4 separate regions of the Homo sapiens genome follow, and regions 2, 3 and 4 are each linked to region 1. Evidence: promoter capture Hi-C in 16 types of primary human blood cells and fetal thymus (Javierre and others, 2016). All regions are on one chromosome and are shown on one strand. The core of a region is centred on a gene start or on the middle of the fragment in contact, and the rest is flanking DNA. Distances in the headings are between cores, read along the strand shown.

The links. The method cuts DNA at HindIII sites, captures the fragments that hold promoters and counts their contacts. A CHiCAGO score of 5 or more calls a contact.
Region 2: a contact is called between a fragment that was not itself captured here and the fragment with the promoter of GOLPH3 in region 1, in 8 of 17 cell types (naive CD4 T cells, total CD8 T cells, total CD4 T cells and 5 more). The highest score is 13.5, in naive CD4 T cells.
Region 3: a contact is called between a fragment that was not itself captured here and the fragment with the promoter of GOLPH3 in region 1, in 1 of 17 cell types (M0 macrophages). The highest score is 5.7, in M0 macrophages.
Region 4: a contact is called between a fragment that was not itself captured here and the fragment with the promoter of GOLPH3 in region 1, in 2 of 17 cell types (activated CD4 T cells and non-activated CD4 T cells). The highest score is 7.8, in activated CD4 T cells.

Annotation. Positions count from the first base shown.
Region 1 is chr5:32,171,835-32,176,916 of GRCh38, reverse strand. It overlaps GOLPH3 (golgi phosphoprotein 3), which reads left to right and starts at 2,598. Exons shown (of 4, transcript NM_022130.4): 1 at 2,598-3,107. The coding sequence starts at 2,883. RefSeq lists a silencer at 2,705-3,314. The HindIII fragment of the contact is 5,568 bases long and covers 1-3,591 here.
Region 2 is chr5:31,518,865-31,523,946 of GRCh38, reverse strand. DROSHA (drosha ribonuclease III) reads left to right here. Exons shown (of 36, transcript NM_001382508.1): 6 at 2,732-2,824. Among named protein-coding and RNA genes, the nearest start is that of DROSHA, 11 kb to the left of the region's middle. RefSeq lists an enhancer at 1,600-1,769. The HindIII fragment of the contact is 1,508 bases long and covers 2,330-3,837 here.
Region 3 is chr5:31,600,082-31,605,163 of GRCh38, reverse strand. No RefSeq gene overlaps it. Among named protein-coding and RNA genes, the nearest start is that of PDZD2, 37 kb to the left of the region's middle. The HindIII fragment of the contact is 6,111 bases long and covers 1-5,082 here.
Region 4 is chr5:31,632,829-31,637,910 of GRCh38, reverse strand. No RefSeq gene overlaps it. Among named protein-coding and RNA genes, the nearest start is that of PDZD2, 3.8 kb to the left of the region's middle. The HindIII fragment of the contact is 3,059 bases long and covers 729-3,787 here.

The DNA of each region.
Region 1 (5,082 bases), core at 1,349-3,848:
ACTGCACTCCAGCCTGGGCGACAGAATGAGACTCTGTCTCAAAAATAAATAAATAAATAAATAAAAATTTTTTAAAAAGTAACACTCATTGTTGTAATTAGGAATATTCTCATTCCTAAAATTCCTTCTTTTTTCCTTCCTAAAATATCCTTTCTTCCTCTTCCTGTTTTTAAAATATCTCCTTCCTTCCTCCCTCACTTCTTCCCCAGCTGCCCTCCACCCCCACCCATCATGATGGCTGGGGGTGGAGGGCAGCTGGGGAGGAAAAAAGCTGCATAGACTTTCATGACCTGAGAAGTGCCACACAGTCATGTTGGCCACATTCTATTCATTTCAAGAGAGTCACTAAGTCTGGCCCACACTCAGGGGGAGGGAAATTAGGCTTCACATTTTGAGGGGAGGAGTATCAGAGGATTTGTTGGCATTAAAACCTTCAGGAGAGAAAGGAGAACAACTGGGTGAACAGGGGCAGAGCTGGGAGGGAGATTTTCACTACACATATCTTTGTACTCTTTGAACTACATACTTGACTATATTAGTCAAGTAATTTTTTTTTTTTTTTGAGACGGAGTCTCGCTCTGTCACCCAGGCTGGAGTGCAGTGGCGCAATCTCTGCTCACTGCAAGCTCCGCCTCCGGGGTTCACGCCATTCTCCTGCCTCAGCCTCCCGAGTAGCTGGGACTACAGGGGCCCGCCACCACGCCCGGCTAATTTTTTGTATTTTTAGTAGAGACGGGGTTTCACCGTGTTAGCCAGGATGGTCTCGATCTCCTGACCTCCTGATCCGTCCGCCTTGGCCTTCCAAAGTGCTAGGATTACAGGCGTGAGCCAACGCGCCCAGCCAATTTTTTTTTTTTTTTTTTGAGACAGGGTCTTGCTCTGTCTCTCAGGCTGGTGTGCAGTGGCACGATCACCCTCATGGCAGCCTCAAATTCTGGGCTCAAGCGGTTCTCCTGCCTCAGCCTCCCGAAGACCTGGGACTACAGATGTGGGCCACTACTCCTGATTAACTTTTTTCACATAATAAATTAATTACATTTATTTTACAAAGAAATATTTCAAGCTACAACATTTGGTAAAATCAGAAAAGATGAAGAAAAAAGGTCCAAAGAGGGTGTGGGCTGGCGCGGTGGCTCACGCCTGTAATCCCAGCACTTTGGGAGGCCAAGGCCGGCGGATCACGAGGTCAGGTGATCGAGACCATCCTGGCTAACACGGTGAAACCCCGTCTCCACTAAAAATACAAAAAATTAGCCAGGCGTGGTGGCGGGCGCCTGTAGTCCAGCTACTCAGGAGGCTGAGGCAGGAGAATGGCGTGAACCCGGGAGGCAGAGCTTGCAGTGAGCCGAGATTGTGCCACTGCACCCCAGCCTGGGCAACAGAGCAAGACTCCGTCTCAAAAAAAAAAAAAAAAAAAAAAAAAAGAGGGTGTGAATGGGAGAAATTGGTTGAGGTGAAATCGACCTTCACCAAGACAGGTGGGAAAAAGGGAAGGTCTACTTGGTGTGCCCCCTGGACCCTCTCTTCCCTTCATTTAGCACTGTCACTTTCCAGGGCATGGGATGGTAGGCAGCAGCAGTTCTGGATAATGGATTTGTGGAAGAGAAGAATCCATCTAAAGCACTCTTTAGCCACAGCCCATGATCACTTTTTTTAAAAAATTTTTATTTTTTGCTTTGCTGTTGTTCCACTCTGTCCATACATTGTTTAATACAGGATGGCACACAATACCATTCCTGGTTAAATGTTTCACTTAACAAGCGCCACCCTCTACTCCTCCAACTCCTGTCTCAGGTTTGACAGCTATTTTTTTAACCTAATTTGCGCACGCCAAGAGGATTTCACCTAGTAACTACACGGAGAGACATCCGATGCGTACAAAGACGTGGCATGAAACGCTGCAGGTTTATTGTCTCTATAAAAAGATCGTTAAGGTCGAGCGTGCTAACGTGTGCGGTACTAACTGTACTCACTACGCCCTGGTCACTTTATAGCACAAGTCCGAGGCAAGGAAAGAAGTTTTACAAACAAAACTGGTCAACTGTTCTATCTTCTTACTCCTGGAAAACAATAAAGGTCCACTTTCAAACCATTTGGACGCACTTGCTCCTTCTAAAGGGTTAGGGAGTCCCGGCAGATAGCGTACCCCTCCCCGCCCAGCAGCAGAGAGCAAAGTCCTTCCTGCCGATCCTGCAGACCCCGGAGTCCAAATGGGACCCCGTCCACACGACCGCGGAGTCGCCTCCGAAGACGGCGGTGTCTGGGGCGTGGAGGGCACGGCTGGAGGCTGAGTGGGGTCCACCTTCGCGTGGCCCAGGCTCTTCCATTCACGGGGGGCCCCGCCAGGTTCAGGCTCCAGCCCTGGGTAGTGAAGGGGAAACGGGGAACGGAAGGAGGGAGGGCACGTCACGGGAGCAGGACTGCAGGACCGCGGGTCAGGGGGCGCAGGAACGCCAAAGAAAAGACAAGCACCGAGGGCCGGGAAGGGTGTAGGCTGCAGTGGCAGCGGATCCCCGGCCGCCGCTTCCGGCGCCTCCCGGCCCAGCTCTCCCGCGCCGACTCTGCCACATCCTCCGGTGACGTCAGCCGGGGCCGCCATATTGGAAAGGCGCCGCCGCCGCCTCCGCCTTGGAGCTCGGGGTGTTTCGGGGACTGCGGCCACAGGCAGGAAGGCGCTCCTCTCCTGCCCCGCCGACGCCCGGCCAGCCCGCTTCGCCCTGACCTGTTTCCTCATGACTGCCCCCGGCCCTGCTGCCGACGGACGTCGCCCCGGCGTCCGGATTTAACACGGAAACCCGGATCGGAGGCCGCGCGGGGAGGAGGAGGGCGACCCGGTCGGTCCTGCGACCCTCTCGGCCCGGCTCGGCGCCTCGGCGGGAGCCATGACCTCGCTGACCCAGCGCAGCTCCGGCCTGGTGCAGCGGCGCACCGAGGCCTCCCGCAACGCCGCCGACAAGGAGCGGGCGGCGGGCGGCGGCGCCGGCAGCAGCGAGGACGACGCGCAGAGCCGCCGCGACGAGCAGGACGACGACGACAAGGGCGACTCCAAGGAAACGCGGCTGACCCTGATGGAGGAAGTGCTCCTGCTGGGCCTCAAGGACCGCGAGGTGCGGGCGCGGCGGGCTGGGCGGGGGGCGGCGGCGCGGGGCCCGGGCGCCAGGTGAGCTCCAGGTAGGTGCCAGGTGAGCGCCCGAGGCTTCCGGCCCGCGCACCTGCCCTCGCTCCGAAGTCCGCGCCTGGTGGCGCCCAGCTGACGCCGAGCGGTGTCGGAGTTGGTTGACCCCCTGGCGCGGCTGGTGCTTTCTGGATCCTCCCCGTAGAGATGGCTTGGATTTTTCCTTACCCCTTTCACAGTCGCTCCTTTCATTTCGACACCCTGGCAGTTTGTATTTCTTCGTCGCCTTTTTTCCGCGTTTTTAACCCGTGTAGACCCCAGGGTGCAAATCCAACCCGGAGACTGCCCGGGAAACTAACAGCTGGAGCCACCAGCGCCACGAACTCTTTGGGTTTTTGCAGGCTTTAGGACCTGGGAGGGGTGCCCGGATCTGCTTGCTGGGGATGTTTTTTTTTTCTTCTTCTTCAGTTAAAGCTTACTGTTGGGAATTACGAAAAACGTAGGCGAAGTGGTAATAGAGGGAAAAGCTCTTTTACTGAGTAAAGTTAAGTTAAGTTTCTCATGAAACCTCCTGGTAAATGACTTTCTAGGTGAACTTACATTAGGTGAGAGATTATTTTTAGTATCGCTTTTATATTTTATCAGTTGATGAATCTCAAAGTCTTGCCGTCTTAAGAAAGGGCTTTTTCATCGAGTGCTTGAAATGTAGGTTTGTGAGTTGATCAGAGGCCTCAAAGCTTCAGGTGGGTTGAAGTTGCAATAGATAATTCTTTGTATTCTGACTTTGAAAGCGTTTATTTTCACTTCAGTGTCCAAAATTTTCACACACAGAAAAGTTGAAAAAGTGATAGATACATATGCATATATACTCTTTCTAGATTCTATGACGTTTTGCTGTATTTGTTATATTTGCCTACAAAAATGATTATTTATTTATGTGGAGACGGAGTTTCGCTCTTGTTGCCCAGGCTGGAGTGCAATGCCGCGATCTCGGCTTACCGAAATCTCCGCCTCCCGGGTTCAAGCGATTCTCCTGCCTCAGCCTCCTGAGGCAGGCATGCGCCACCATGCCCGGCTAATTTTGTGTTTTTGTTTTGTTTTGTTTTTGAGACGGAGCCTCAGTTTGTCGCCCAGGCTGGAGTGCAGTGGCGCGATCTCCACTCACTGCAAACTCCGCCTCCCGGGTTCAAGCGATTTTCCTGCCTCAGCCTCCCGAGTAGCCGGGACTACAGACGTGCGCCGCCATGCCCAGCTAATTTTCATACCTTTAGTAGAGACGGGGTTTCACCATGTTGGCCAGGATGGTCTCGATCTCTTGACCTAGTGATCCGCCTGCCTCGGCCTCCCAAAGTGCTGAAATTACAAGCTTGAGCCACCGCGCCCAGGCCTGATTTTAAGAAAGTTTTCCAAATTCAGGAAGGTGGGCAAAAAAAAAAAAAAAGTCTTACAAAACAACGTAATCTTTCTTGGTCACTGAAACTTACTAGATATAGGCGAGTTTTATATGGACCGTTTATGGACCTTTCTTATTTAGAAATCTAATGAACTAACGGTTAGCTTGATAGATACGTCTGGGGCATTTGCCATATCTTGGTTTCCCATTTCTCAGGTTTTAATAACAGTAACCTTGAAAAAAGTTGATGTTCCTCTGGCTGTGAAAGGGCTGCTGTACCTGTTTAATTATTGAGTTGTGATGATAAAGCAGGCTGTATGTGCAGTTCCTTGTTCTTTGGATGAAAAAGTAAACTAGGGGTATAGCGTCCTAGTAATGTAATTTTTAGAAAATATTCAACTTTAGGTTTCAAAATTGGAAATCTTGATTATAAACATTTGTCTTTTTTTTTTTCTTTTTTTAGACGGAATCTCGCTCTGTCGCCCAGGCCTGGAGTGCAGTGGCGCCATCTGGGCTCACTGCAACCTCCCCCTCCCGGGTTCAAGCGATTCTCCTGCCTCAGCCTCCCAAGTAG
Region 2 (5,082 bases), core at 1,834-4,333, 650 kb after region 1:
CTGGAGTGTGATGGCGCGATCTCGGCTCACTGCAACCTCTGCCTCCCGGGTTCAAGCGATTCTCCTGTCTCAGCCTCCTGAGTAGCTGGGATTACAGGCACCTGCCACCAAGCCCGGCTAATTTTTGTATTTTTAGTAGAGATGGGGTTTCACCATGTTGGTCAGGCTGGTCTCGAACTCCTGACCTCAGGTGATCTGCCTGCCTCAGCCTCCTAAAGTGCTGGGATTACATGTGTGAGCCACCGCTCCTGGCTGGCATGTGATAGTTAATGTTACAGTTTTATAGTGCAAATGTTAACTGGAAAGAGTAAATAGTTTGTAAATAGTTTTCTTCAGACTCTAAAGTAATTGTTAATAATTTTGCTTCTGGGAAAACATTTTGCAGCAAACATTCTAGATAGTGTTGTATTTCCGCCTCTGTTTTGATATGCTATAATTAGAGGAGTTGTCAGGGCTCTGCTGTAAATCCTAAATTTTTCCATCAAGGCTTCAACTTGGAGTTATGTATTTGTTTGAAGAAACTCAGATGTCCTGTGAATTGCGGATCTCAGTAAAATCAAGTGTCGTAAGAATTACTTCTAACCTGATTTATCCTAAACCACACTCCTTTACTATGAGGATCTATATCTTTCTAAAACGGGCTTTATTTATATTCGAGTTGTTTTATAATGTGCTTGGGGCATTTGCTCTGGAGCTGCCTAGTGGCATAGCTACATTATAATTGGCTCCCTTTGGGATATTAATTAGGTGGAATGTCAGTCATCTGTCTTATATGGCATGCTTCTGTGAAACAAACATGGAGCACATGAAGTCCTAATATAACTTCTAGAAGTATATTTGGAAAACTGAAACTTCATAAATTTGCATTGTGTTAAGTTTATGCAAATTCTATAGTCTGTTTTCTTGTTGCCCCTCCCCTGCTTCTTGGGGTAAGTGAATCTATCCTTTTACAAATTCTGTGTTCCCTATTTTTCTCTGCCTCCAAAATGTGGTTGAATAACAATTGCAAGATTGTCTTAGGGTGGACTGTTTTTAGAAAAGGTCTGTGAAAAAGTGGATATATGTATTTGTTGTCATGAAAAATGAAAGTTACTCCAGGGATAAGGAAAGAAATTGCTACAGGCAGATGTAGTGCACCAAGCACACTGTTGAGCAGAGTGGTAAGGATGTGTGCCCTGGGCTTCACCTAGCTAGGGAGTGCTACCACGCAAGAATTCTCATGGCTGACCTTGTGACAGTAAATGTGTAGCTACTGGAGAACTACCCTAATGTACCTAAGGAATATCTTAATGTTTGCAAACAAGGAAGAATCTTGGGAAAAGTAACACAAACATAGCTTTTCTTGCTTTAAAAGAATTTGTCTTAATAGTGTTACTAATGTGATTTATATCCAAATTGGTCTTTTCAAGTCCTACCCACTCAGAGGTACCAGTCATCATTAGAAGTGTTATTCTTAAATGCAAAATTCTATTGGCTATATGGTAAAAAAAAATATATTAGAAATATCCTCTAATTAGAGTTTTTATTTGGAAATGTACGCAATTATTTTTTTCAACAGCCGTGCCATTACAAATTACATATATCTTTGACATGTGGCATGGTTCACTAATTTCTATACAATAACTAAGATTTACTGCCCAAATGTAAACTCTGATTTTAGAAGTGTATGAGATGAAGAATGTAGAATCCAAATCTCTGGCTGCTTTATTTGGGATAGCTGGTATATATCTGAGGATTGTATATATATCAGAAACATTATTCAAAGGAGTCTTCCTTTAGAACAGGGGAATCTTTAAGTGGAAAGCAATTTCTATTTTAATACCTAAGCACTCACCGATCTCTGTCAGTTTTGTAAGTTCTATTTTCAATGTATTGACATTTCTGTTTGGTGATAGGTTGGGGGATATTTTTGAGTTCAAACATTTTAATGGTCTTCTTTCTGGACTCAGGTTAATATAGCATTTTATTTTTCCTGTTCTAAGATTGGAAGGTTACTTCCTTTAGACTTGTAGTTCTGATTCAGACACACTAGAGTTCAGATTTCTCTTCTAGGTCCTCATTGTTAAATAGGCTCAAAAGCTATTAATATTATTAAACCCCAGTTTTACATTGGAAGGTTTTAAAAATTCCTCATCTATTTTTTTTTACATTAAGTAAGCCCAACATCTCTATTTAGTTTTTTTTCCAGATGAAAAATAGCATTCAAGTGACTTAGTCATGGCCTCATGGCAGGTTAGTGATAGCTAGATCTACAACTCAAGCCTATAAGCCATAAGCATTAAGAGCTCTTTCATTATAGAACCTTGTCCTAATTTTCACTATAAAAGCTTTATAATTTACATTTATTTGATAGGTAAAATAGAGCATTTTTTAGAAATCAATAGGATGTGGAGTTCTTTAGAGTTTTCCCTCTAGGTTAAATAACCAAGGATTGGCTGATTGCAAGGTTTTAAGGGAAGATTAGGATAAAATTCCCATTATTGCGTAGCATCATGTATGACTTCTTTCTTTAAAGAAAACTGCAAAAATTCTCCAAGTTAGTTAACTTCTGTAAAGTGAAAAGCTCCTTTATCCTCTAATAAATTAAGAAGGCATAAAAATGTCCCCCAGTGAACAGTGCCTGAAAAATTCCTAGATGTGGTCCATTTATTTACAAGATGAATTCAGTGAAAAGAGATGGTGTTTTTGAGTCTTTCTGTTGAAAACAGCTCTGTGTATTAATTCCTTTAAGAGAGCGAGAACGGGAGAGACACAGGCATCGAGACAACCGAAGATCACCATCTCTGGAAAGGTCCTACAAAAAAGAGTATAAGAGATCTGGAAGGTAAGCAAGGAGTTGACACTGAAAGAAGTCATAGGATTATCTCCTTGAATTCAGATTTTGTGCTTGTATGGAGCAACAGCCAAGTCTTCATAATGGCCTCAGAGTCTGTCCAAGATGACCTGTGAAAAGCTAAAGCAGACTGTAATTTAAAAGACTTTACTTTCAAGATGCATTGATTATGCACAAGGAAAATCTTGATAAATTTCCAAAAATTAGAAATTATACAGACCACTTTTTCTGACCACAGTGCTATAAAACTATACATTAATCATTTTAAAAAACCTTGGAAATTCATAATTATGCTCTTAAATTTACATGTTTCAGAAAAAAAGAGCAAAACTGCAGTCATATTTTCATTAGAAAATGACATTGAGATTGCTATCACCCAAAACTTAAAGGGTGTAATCAATTCTATATCCCGAAGTAAAATTTTGTGGTCTTACATTAATATGATGGTAATGAAGAACAGCACTCTAGAATCTGACAGATTCGGGGTCAGTTATTAGCTCTCCCAATTTTATTACTGGGCAAAGTTATCAGTGTCTTCGTTTGTAAAATAAGGACAGTTATATGTACCTTCTTGAGTGATAAGGGGTCATTGAGATAATGCATGTCAAACACTTAGAACTGGGCCTGAAGTAAGTGCCAAATAAATGGTAACTATGTATATAATTATTATCTGAGCACTTGGCTATAGAAATTGGTGGAGCTTAAGAAAAGCAGAAAAAGGGATTTAAAGATAAATTAATGAAATGGAAATAGAACTACAGTGATATAACTATATTGTAAGTAAATGCAAATACAATTTTTAAAGTGGGAAATAAAAGAAAAATCTACATAACATTAGGTTTGAGAAAGTGTATTGTTACAGGAATGAAAAGAAATTAAAAAATTTAAAACCGTTTAAAAAATTAACTTGAATGTGATGGGTTGATTTCTAAGAAAACAAAAATAATTTCACACAAGAAGCAGAAAACTTTAATAGGTCAATAACTCGAAAAATGGAAAAAGCTTACTTTGCACCACCTCTAAAAAAAGCTTTAAAGTGGTCTTGAACACTAAAAAAAGATGGAAGGAAAGCTCAGCTCATTCTGTAGTAGCAGGAAAAACCAGATGGCAAAACCTAACCAAGGGAAAAAAAATGACACAAAAACGACACAGCAATCTCTCTTACAAATATGGATATAAAAACACGAATTAGGATATTAGCAAATGTTTTCAGTAGTTTGTTAAAATAACAGATAGAGTTTATTCCAAGACTGCATGGATAGAAAAGTTAATATTAGAAAATCTGTATTGTATGTGTCAAAATCTGTAGGGTTATCTCAGTACTTACCTTTTAGGTATTTAAACTAAAATCAGCATCCATATGTGAGTAAAAACTAGTAAACTAGAAATATTAACAGTTGTCTTTAACATGATGAAGAATGGTAGCTCACGATGAACCTGATGGATACCATCCCCAAAGAGTCAAATGTGGTGTTGAAACCTGCAGGCCTTTCCCATACAAATTTGAAAAAAGGCAAGGAGGCCCCATTGCTTATCGTTGTTACTGAATATCCTTGTGATACAATCAACATGGTAATTAAAAACATGGTGTTTTTGTGTGTCCCGGGTATTGTACTGGTATGGGTGATATAGGCATTAACAAAGGCCCCCACTTAATAGGAAAAGGAAAGTTAAGTGCTGTAAGTGCGTTTGATAGGACACTTACATGTTGCTCTGGATTAGATGAGATTAATTAGGAAGGATGAAATGCCATGGGTTAGATGGGATTAATTAGGAAAGATGACAAGAGGGCCTGAGGAGGAGGAGAGGAGACAGGAGAAAAGCCAGAGTATTGTGTCAGTGGACATCATTGAGGACCTATTTGAGGTGGATGATTTTTAATGTATAAGTGCTGGAAATAGCCTCGGTTTAATGGTTTCTTCTCTAATGCCTGGTAGCTTGCAGAGAAGGTAGACTTGAATTCTGTAAGTTCTGACTAACGCAGCAGAAAATAAAAATTAGAAATGGAAATACTGTGAGGGGGAAAATTTACCAGTTTGCACTGTGGCATATTGGTAAGAAGAAACATTGGGAGTTTGGATTTTGAATTTTGGAGTGCCTGAGACACTTACCTAAAAAAGATCTTTTGTTTCTGTGTTGAAATGCCCTTCTCAAAGTGTTAAAAAAAATATTAACTGATGTTCACAACAACTGACCCTGACCATTCATTACATCATTCACAACGCCTGCTTAAAAGGATGGGTGAGGAT
Region 3 (5,082 bases), core at 1,777-4,276, 570 kb after region 1:
TTCCTTCAATATATTTATATTCAGCCATGGTTCTTAACATTAAAAAGAGCTGATCACATTTGTGTATCTTTCCTCTCTCTTGAGATTCCTCTGTAATGACAGCTAATGAATGAAAAGTATATAAGCCAAAATAATGAAATAAAAGGTACACAGGTCATCGGCTGAGGAAAACTTGATAGAGGAGTGCTCATTGATTTAGAAGCAGAGGAAGGCATAGTGTTTGAGTATTTATGGGAACAATAGCTTTTTTCCCAGAAAAACTGCATGCATGCCAAACATTTTGCAATCAATTTTTGGAGTTTCCCAGCCTCTGTGTCCCATCTATTGATTCCTGGTTAAAAAACAAAAACAAAACACCACTAGCTTGAAAGAGGACACACTGTTTGACAGATAGTTTTACTGGATACAGTGCACCAAAATGTTAGCCACAGCTTTTTAAAGCGGGGCATACTTTTTAGATAAAATATTATAATAGATCTTTTGTGTCAATAAAGGGGAAAGCAGCCTGGCATACCATTAGGCTTTAAGTAAAATACAAGGAATAAATTGTCTCACTTCCAGGAGCAAGTTAAACTAAGCATCATCTAGAATTTGTGACTGAAGGCACAGTGGATTTCTCAGCATACAATAGATAAATCAATGGCATTTGAATTTTTAAACAAACCCTTAGAGACATCCACGACAGGGCTGAGACATTTCCTGAAATTGCGCTCATAGAAACAGTTGCTTGACACCTTAACCTGGTCTGTTCCACTAAGGCAGAGCTGACTCCTTTGCTCTTGAGTTTTTTTCCCTGAGTGGCAGTTGGTTCCCTCACTGAGGTGATAAATTAGGAGTCACCTTAAGGCATGAAACATGCAATATGAAACAATATTATTTGCTAAATGGAAATTCCTGCATTTCTGTTCTAATCTATTTCTACATATGACAGGCATCAAAGGTAAAGTGAATAATTTTTTTCTTCATAAGATGGCTTAACGTTTTCTATTTCAACCACTTTATATTACTGAGAATGTTTAGGCTTTTCACACTTCTTGATTCCCCCCCAAGTAATGCAACAGATATTTTTAGAATCTTCATATACCGATATTCTCCTTTTGTCCCCTGCAGAGGCTCTCTCAGCTCTGCTCAGGGCCCTGAGAGGATATCTCCCAGGCTTTCTTTTCTTTCTTTCTTTCTTTTTTTTTTTTTTTGAGACAGAGTCTCGCTCCTGTCACCCTGGCTGGAGTGCAGTGGTATGATCTCAGCTCACTGCAACCTCCGCCTGCCAGATTCAAGTGATTCTCTTGCCTCAGCCTCCCGAGTAGCTGGGATTACAGGTGCCCACCACCACGCCTGGCTAATTTTTGTATTTTTAATAGAGACAGGGTTTCACCATGTTGTCCAGGCTAGTCTTAACTCCTGACCTCAGGTGATCCGCCCACCTCAGCCTCCCAAAGTACTGGGATTACAGGCGTGAGCCACTGTGCCCAGCATCCCAGGCTTTCTTGACAACTGGCTTCCAGTAGCCAATGGGATACCCTAGCAGGAGATCAGAAGGTGGGAGAAGAGAAACATATGGGTTATTTGTTCCCCTCTTCCTCTCTGTTTTGGTGTTAGGCCTCTGATAGTAGTGACACCTCTCCACAACTATCGATTCTGCTGGATGGCACCTTCCCATCTCCAGCTCTCACCAGACTCCAGGAATTCTATTTCCTCCCCGCTGTCTCCTTTGCCCTTCATGTGGTCATGGCTACCCTTGCTTGCTAGCCTCTGGGTGTCTCCATAACCTTTGTTGGTTCCTTTATCCATATCTCTGAAAAAAATTCCCTTACTAAAGTCCTGTCTTTGGAACTAGTTGAAGTGAAGCCTGCTTTCTGCTGGGATCATGGCTGACACACTTCATCTCTCTTTATTTCAAACAAGTAAGACTAGTGAAGCAGAAAAAAGAGGGGAGAAAATGGCTTGAGGAAGAGAAAGGAACAGTGTGGTTTTAAAAGGCAACACTTAACAAGAAAACAATTGAGTAAAACCCATCAAAAAGAAAATGCTCTTTTCTTTGCAATGGACCCCCTAGTAAGATGTCACTCAGTAAAGTGGTCATCAACCTACTCTTTTGAGCTTTGCTTTTACCAAAGAAGTCCAGTCTTGATGAGCTTTATCACTCCTTGTCATCTTTTACTTGTTCATTTCAAAGCAAAAAGGGAACTTATATTGACTGAACATATTATATGTGCTCATAACTCTTGACAATACTTGAGGTGTTATGAATTGCGTTTTAAAGTGGAGGAAACTGAGGCTCTTGAGAGATCCAATAATTTGCTCCAAATCATATAACTAGCAGGTAGTAAAGCCAGAATGAATAACTTAGCATATATGCTTTCATACAGAATATTGCTTTCGTTAAAGTATTTCTCTTTGACTGCAATCTTAAGACACTATGGGCTTAAGACACTTAAGACACTATGGGCGCGGTGGCTCATGCTTATAATCCCAGCACTTTGGGAGGCCAAGGCGGGCAGATCATTTGAGGTCAGGAGTCTGAGATGAGCCTGACCAACATGGTGAAACCATGTCTCTACTAAAAATACAAAAAAAATTAGCCGGGTTTGATGGCACATGACTGTAGTCCCAGCTACTCGGGAGGATGAGGCAGGAGAATTGCTTGAACCCAGGAGACAAAGGTGGCAGTGAGCCAAGATTGTGCCACTGCACTCCAGCCTGGGAGACAGAGTGAGACTCTGTCTCAAAAAACAAAAACAAAAAACACGCTATGACCCTCTACAAAAAGATCTTATTGTTTCTAAATATTTTTGATGAAAAATAGTTGATCCACTTGTTTATTTTTTGTCTCTTTTGAGACTCCTCTGTAATGACAGCTAATGAAAGGAAAATATGTAAGCCCAAATGATGATATAAAGGGTAGAAGGGCTATCAGTTGATGAACACCAAAGGAGTGGTTGTTGATGTAGAGTGAGAGGTAGGCATATCTTAAAGGGTTTCCAGAGGAAATTATGGGCAAAAAGGAAGATTATTTGAGTGATAGAACCCTGAAGAACTTTGGGAGCAAAGAGTGGACATGCATTGGTGGACAAGAGTAAGAAGTGGGGCTGAAAACAGAACTGATGTAAAAACAGATATCTAGTGTCCCTGATTATCTGTACAAATGTACATATTTTTTAAAGCGAGGTATTGAACAGATAATTGGGAAGTCTAGGTTTGTTATTGTGGCTTGTCACTTTTTCTTCTTTGCTGTAGGATGATCAAGAAGAAACAAGACTATTATTCTTCCCATCTCTACCCCAACTCTCTCTTCCTCTCTCAGAAGGACAGCAGCAAGGTTATCTACCAGGTAGGCAAGAAATTACAGGTTCCTCCTCTAGAGAAATTAAATAGTCATAGAGAAAAGACCTCCACATTTTGGCCTTTGGGAGTTCCCTGAGATAATGGTCATTGCCCACACCTGATCACTCTCGACACACTTGTTCACAAACACAGCTCTCAGCTTTTTTTTTTTTTTTTTTTTTTTTTTTTTTTTGAGACAGAGTCTTGCTCTGTCGCCCAGGCTGGAGTGCAGTGGCACGATCTCGGCTCCACTTCCCGGGTTCATGCCACTCTCCCGCCTCAGCCTCCCGAGTAGCCGGGACCACAGGCGCCCGCCACCAAGCCCAGCCAATTCTTCTGTATTTTTAGCAGAGACAGGGCTTCACCATGTTAGCCAGGATGGTCTTGATCTCCTAACCTCGTGATCCGCCCGCCTCGGCCTCCCAAAGTGCTGGGATTACAGGCGTGAGCCACCGCGCCCGGCCAGCTCTCAGCTTTTCTGTGTCCCATTCTCAAATATAAATGAACTTAAGAGTATTCAAATAACAACAACAAAAACATCAGGAAAATAAAAATTAGACGGCAGAAATGAAAATCTCAATAGTAAAGTAGAGGGTATAGTTAGGGAATCCAAAACCAGAGCAAAGTGGCAAATAATTGGACAATAAGAGAGAAAACATAAGAAATTAGATGCTCAATCCAGGAAGCCTGACAACTAATTAATAGGAGTGCCAGAAAGAGAACAGAAAAGACTGGTGGAGAAAAGTATTAATAAAATAACGTAAGAGAATTTTTCAGAGCTGAAGAACATGAGCCTTTTCTCAAAAAGAACTTTTTGGTATCTAGCCCAATGAGTAAAAGACAAATGAACAAACAAACAAATATCCCACAAGGCCAGGCACGATGGCTCACGCCTGTAATCCCAGCACTTTGGGAAGCCAAGGCAGGAGGATTGCTTGAGCACAGGAGTTCGAGACCAGCCTGGGCAACATAGTGAAACCCTGTCTCTACAAAAAATACAAAAACTTAGCTAGGCGTGGTGGCACATTCCTGTAGTCCCAGCTACCCGGGAGGCTGAGGTAGACGAATCACCTGAGCCCAAGAGATCGAAGCTGCCATGGGCCATCCTCATGCCACTGCACTCCAGCCTTGGTGACAGAGTGAGACGCCGTCTCAAAAAAAAAAAAAAAAAAAAAATTCCCATCAAATAACATAAACCAGTGACAACAAAGGACTTATTATTACAAAATTTCAAACCCTAGGGATAAACAGAAGTCTCTAAAAGCTCTGGTAGGAGTGGAGAAATAGAGTGGAGACAGAAAACTAATGAATAGAAGATTGTGAATAAGAATGGCATCAAACTTCTCATGGAAATAGAAGGTAGAAGATAATGGAGATATACCTTCAAATTTCCAAGGGAAAGTTATTTTTTGTTTAACCAAGAATTACATATTTAGCCAAATTTGCTATCAAGTAAAAGGGTAGAAAAGAGACATTTTTACACATACAAGTCTTCAAAAAATGTACCTCCTGTGAAATTAAATAATTCAAACTTAAAGCTGTTGGACATTTGAATTATTCTGAGCTTCAAGTGGAGGGTGGCTATGTAGTCTGAGTCACGCAGCATGCAGCTGCAACTTCTGCCTTGTTTTCTTGTAAATGATTAAGAAGACCAAATGGCCTCAGACATGAGACCCCCTCAGATCACTACCTCCCTCATGGAGCAATAGAGTAATCTTCCTTGGGATGTAGCAATCTGTAACCAATCAAATTGCTCTC
Region 4 (5,082 bases), core at 1,009-3,508, 540 kb after region 1:
CACAAATCCAAGCATCGTATATGACAAGCTGGGCACTCAGGCACTCAGAGCTTCTCTTCCTATGTGTAAATAGAGAAAACACCTACCATGCAGGATTGCTGGAACTAGCAGTAACACAGCTATTCAGCACAGCACTTAGGAGGTGCTCAATGAAATGGTAACCATTATCAATGAAAGGTATCATTGGGACACTACAAAAAAATCCTTCTAGAAGGATCAAACAGGGCTGGTGCTTTCTGTTTTTTCCACAATCCCAGGCCCATCTTCCACCACTCTGTCCCGTGTTTTCTCAGCCTCTGTACCCAGCACATACCTTGGGCCTACCTCCCTCAGCACCAATGAAAAGTTTGCTGAATCAATGAATATGCAAATAAATGTATCACTCAAACTGTAGTCACTGCTATTTCTTATCCACTCCATCCCCAACTCTTTCATTCCAGCCATGTACTCCTAATCTGTAAATTCTGTTTCCTCTGCCAGAGTGACATTCTCACTCTCCTGTGTCTGCTGAAATCCCAAGGAGGTAAATGTCATCTCTACTGGAAAGGCTTCTCTGATCATCAGAACAAACATCACGTTTCCTCTGCCTTGTTAATTGCTGCAATGGTAGCACTTTATGCAAATTGCTCATCTAACCCTTGTCAGGTGTATTATGTTGTAGGAATTATGGCGTTTTGTCTCACATATTTCTAGCTTGTGAGTTCTTGGAGGTAAGAGAACTTAAAGCTTATTGTTTGTGTTCCCAAAGCCTAGGGTGGCATGGTGTCCGACCCAATAGCCACTCAATAAATATTTGCTGAATTAAAATGAATTGTTAGGTATATACATGTATGTTATATGTGGCATATATTATGTATAAATACAATATATACAGATGTATTTTATAATCTGTCTCCTTCAGACATGGCCCTGCTGACCTGCTTTAAATACTTCGTTTCAATCACTTTTCAGCTGATATTTTCCAGATATTTTTGGCAAGTTCTTATCTGCTAATAATAGCTCAATTCACAGAGGTCAATCAAATGCATGGAAATTTTGTTTTGCCCTTGCAGTCTTGTCAATTTGGAAAGCTGACAACTGAGGGCATTTATTTTCCAATGTTTGAAGATCAAAATGTAAATCCTTTTTGCCCCCTTGTTAAACATTTAGTCACAGATTAGTATTTCTATCAAAGTTGCCATTTTAATTTAGTGCTCATAATATATGTGATGTGGAGGAGGAGGAGGCTGTATATAGAATATCTAAGACTTCAGAGCAAAGGAAGATTAAAATGATAAACAAAGAAAAAATGTGTGATCCCAAGCTATATCAGTGACAGAATGTAGCGTGGTTTAGGTGAGTCCAAGTAGATTCTCATGGATTGCAGTGCCATGTGGTTTACTTCTGAGCTTTCTCCCTCTATGAAGAAAAATCTACAGACCAGGCAGCTGAAACTAAAACTGGAGGTTTGCTTACCAACTCTTGAAAAGACTGCTTTCCATCTTTCCGCCTCAGCTGCTCTTCCAAGTAAATTTCAAGGGAGGAGAAGTAGCCTTAGTCAACAACTGGCTCAATTCCCTTTCTCCTCCCAGCCTCTGTGGGTTCATTTTATCTCCAAAACAGATTCTAGCTTCCTGTTTACCTAGCGAATTACCCTTTTTTCTTTCTTCCACAAATTCCTGGCCACTAACTCTTCCATTCATGACCTCACGCTAGAACGAGCCATCTCCTGGCCAAGAAAGGGGCTTAAAAAGAACAAATGAGGCCAAGTGCCCTGGCTCATGCCTGTAATCCCAGCACTTTGGAAGGCCGAGAGGGGCGGATCACTTGAGGTCAGGAGTTCGAGACCAGCCTGGCCAACAGGGTGAAACCCAGCTTCTGCTAAAAATGCAAAAGTTAGCTGGGCATGATAGCGGGCGCCTGTAATCCCAGCTACTGGGGAGGCTGAGGCAGGAGAATTGCTTGAGCCTGGGAGGTGAAGTTTGCAGTAAGCCAAGATCACGCCACTGTACTCCTCTCTGGGAGTCAGAGCAAGACTCCGTCTCAAAGAAAAAGAACAAATGAGTGACGATGGTAGTAAAACATTAAGTCAGTGGATCTCAGTCTGGACTACACTTAAGGATTCCCAGAAGTTTGAAAATTTAAAAAACTCCAGACTCACCCCCTGAGATCACTATATACTTGGTCTTTGGGGAGCCCCTGGATGCCCCTTAACCAGAACCCCAGTGATTGTAATTTGGGTGGCCCACACAGGATAACTTGGAGAAACACTGAAGTAGAGTGACATGACAGCTGAGAGGGTGCCCAAGGTCACATTCCAGTACTTGGTCATAGTACTGTAGAGATAAGACTTTATTTTAAACATTGATAAAAATGTTGTAATATTTATCCCGTCTCAGATGAAATATTTTATTTAGCCAAAACACAAAAAAGGACCTGCATTTGATGCATACTGGTTTTTTTCTTTTTCTTTCTTTCTTTCTTTTTTTTTTTTTTTGAGATGAAGTGTCGCTCTTTTTGCCCAGGCTGGAGTGCAATGGCGCGATCTTGGCTCCCTGCAACCTCTGCCTCCTGGGTTCAAGTGATTCTCCTGCCTCAGCCTCCTGAGTACTTGGGATTACAGGTGCCCACCACCACCCCCAGCTAATTTTTGTATTTTTAGTAGAGACAGGGTTCCACCATGTTGGCCAGGCTGGTCTCAAACTCCTGACCTCAGGTGATCCGCCTGCCTCGGCCTCCCAAAGTGCTGGGATTACAGGCGTGAGCCACTGCACCCAGCCCATACTGTCTTAAAATATATATTTAGGGGAAAGGTTTAAGTAAGCACTTTTCATCCACGTACATTGAAAATGAGTTTCACTGTATCCATGAGCGTGACGTTGGATTTTATGCAAATGTGTTTTATTGTTTCCAGTGTGGTCTAATAATACTGCACGTGAAGAATTTGTAATTTTCTCCTGGGCTTCCCCTTACAAGCCAACCCATTATTTTATATCTTTGTCTCTCAGCCTTCCATTTGTACTATTGAAGCATTGGTTGCCACGGTAATTTTTTTATACAATTTTTGGCAGAAAAAACTGAATTACAAACTAGTAACTACAGACCACGTATGACTTTCACAATTTATATAGATGATTCAATCATTTTGCAATAGGGTAGAGTGTAGTGTTTATCCAAGTAGATTCTTTTGGACTGTGGTGGGATTTGATTTACCTTTGAGTTTACTTGCTTAACACACATTAAGACACCAGCAAGACAGGCCTGGCGTGGTGGCTCACGCCTGTAATCCCAGCACTTTGAGAGGCCGAGCTGAGTGGATCACCTGAGGTCAGGAGTTCAAGACCAGCCTGGCCAACATGGCGAAACCTCATCTCTACTAAAAATATAAAAATTAGCTGGGTGTGGTGGCAGGTGCCTGTAATCCCAGCTACTCAGGAGACTGAGATAGGAGAATCGCTTGAACCTGAGAGGCAGAGGTTGCAGTGAGCCAAGATCGCACCACTGCCCTCCAGCCTGGGAGACACAGCAAGACTCCATCTCAAAAAAAAAAAGACACTAGCAAAACAAACCTACTAAAAAAAAAGATAGAAAGACAGAGGTTCAGTTTTGATTAGCATAACCAGTACTCTGCTATCAGTATATCTAAAGAGAGCTGTTTTAGTTATACACACACATAGGTTTTGTTTTATACTTGGCCTTTGTCTTTATTTTGGTTTACACAAGAGACAGGACATGGCACTGAGTCTTCTTGGGGCTTGCAGCTTCTGTCACCCAGGCACAGTAGTGCCCCCCGCAAAGTTGGGAAGCTTGGGTTCTCCCCCATTCCCTGTTCCCTGGATGTTAGAATTCAGTCAAATCACCGTGTATCCAAATTTGTAGACCACAGGATTTAGGTAAGCTATTTGCACAACACATTCTCATCCCTAATTCCTATCTCCCCTGCTGATCATTCTTGTTCTGTTCTGCATTACTTACTTATGGAAAGGGATTATTTTAAGTCAATCACATGCTATTTTTACTCCTTCATCAGATACTTCTACTTCCAGATATTTTCCACTGAATAATCTCAAAAAAAGTAATTATAAAAATAAATTATATTTCTTATGTATCTATTCCATTTTCTTTGGGTTTTTTTTTGTTGTTGTTGGTTTGTTTGTTTTTTGAGACAGGTTCTTACTCTGTCACCCAGGCTGGAGTGCAGTGGCATGATCATGGCTCACTGCAGCCTCAACCTCCCAGGCTCAAGCGATCCTCCCACCTCAGCCGCCCAAGTAGTTGGGACTGCAGGTGCATCCCACCACTCTTAGCTAATTTTTTATTATTTGTAGAGAAGGGATCTCACTATGTTGCCAAGGCTGGTCTTGAACTCTTGGACTCAAGCAATCCTCCTGCCTTGGCTTTCCAAAGTGCTGGGACTACAGACGTGAGCCACCACACCCTGCCATTTTTAAAATTTTTTTAAAATTGTACTTCTTCACTCCTCTTTGTATCTTTTTACCTCTCTTAGCACCTGCCTTTATTGGTAGAGCTAACATGAACATGGAACTAAAAGTCAGCTTAATGATACCCAGCCCAAAAAGCAACAGAGACCCAGTGCTGTGTTCTGTGACCAATCACAATAACACAGTAAAATTTGAGTAACATTGGGCACCTTTCTGTAATAATACCTATCTCTAAAAGTCTATTACGATCTTGGGTCCACAGCAAGATCATAAATGGGAAAGTACTTTGGAAAAATTTAAAGGTCTCTTCAAATGAGAGAATGTGAGAGCAACAGCTCTTGGAATGACAATTTGTCCTAAAATGTACATGAATAAGATGGTTTACATTTCATCTCAATGTACAGCAAGAATTACCAAGTGTGGTTGATGAGGCCATTGATAAATCATCATTCACAAGTTATTTGCATGAAGTATGAATTAGTGAGCCAAACAAGAAATGCATTTTACATCTCTGCTGTACTCAAGAGCACCGGTCAATGAAATCCACAGAAAGTGCAACCTTGGGGAAAATGCTAGAGGAGACTTGAAAAAGCCAGATTTGGTAAAAGCAAAGTCTTTGTCCATTTGAAGATATATAGGAATGTTTATTATTATTTTGGTT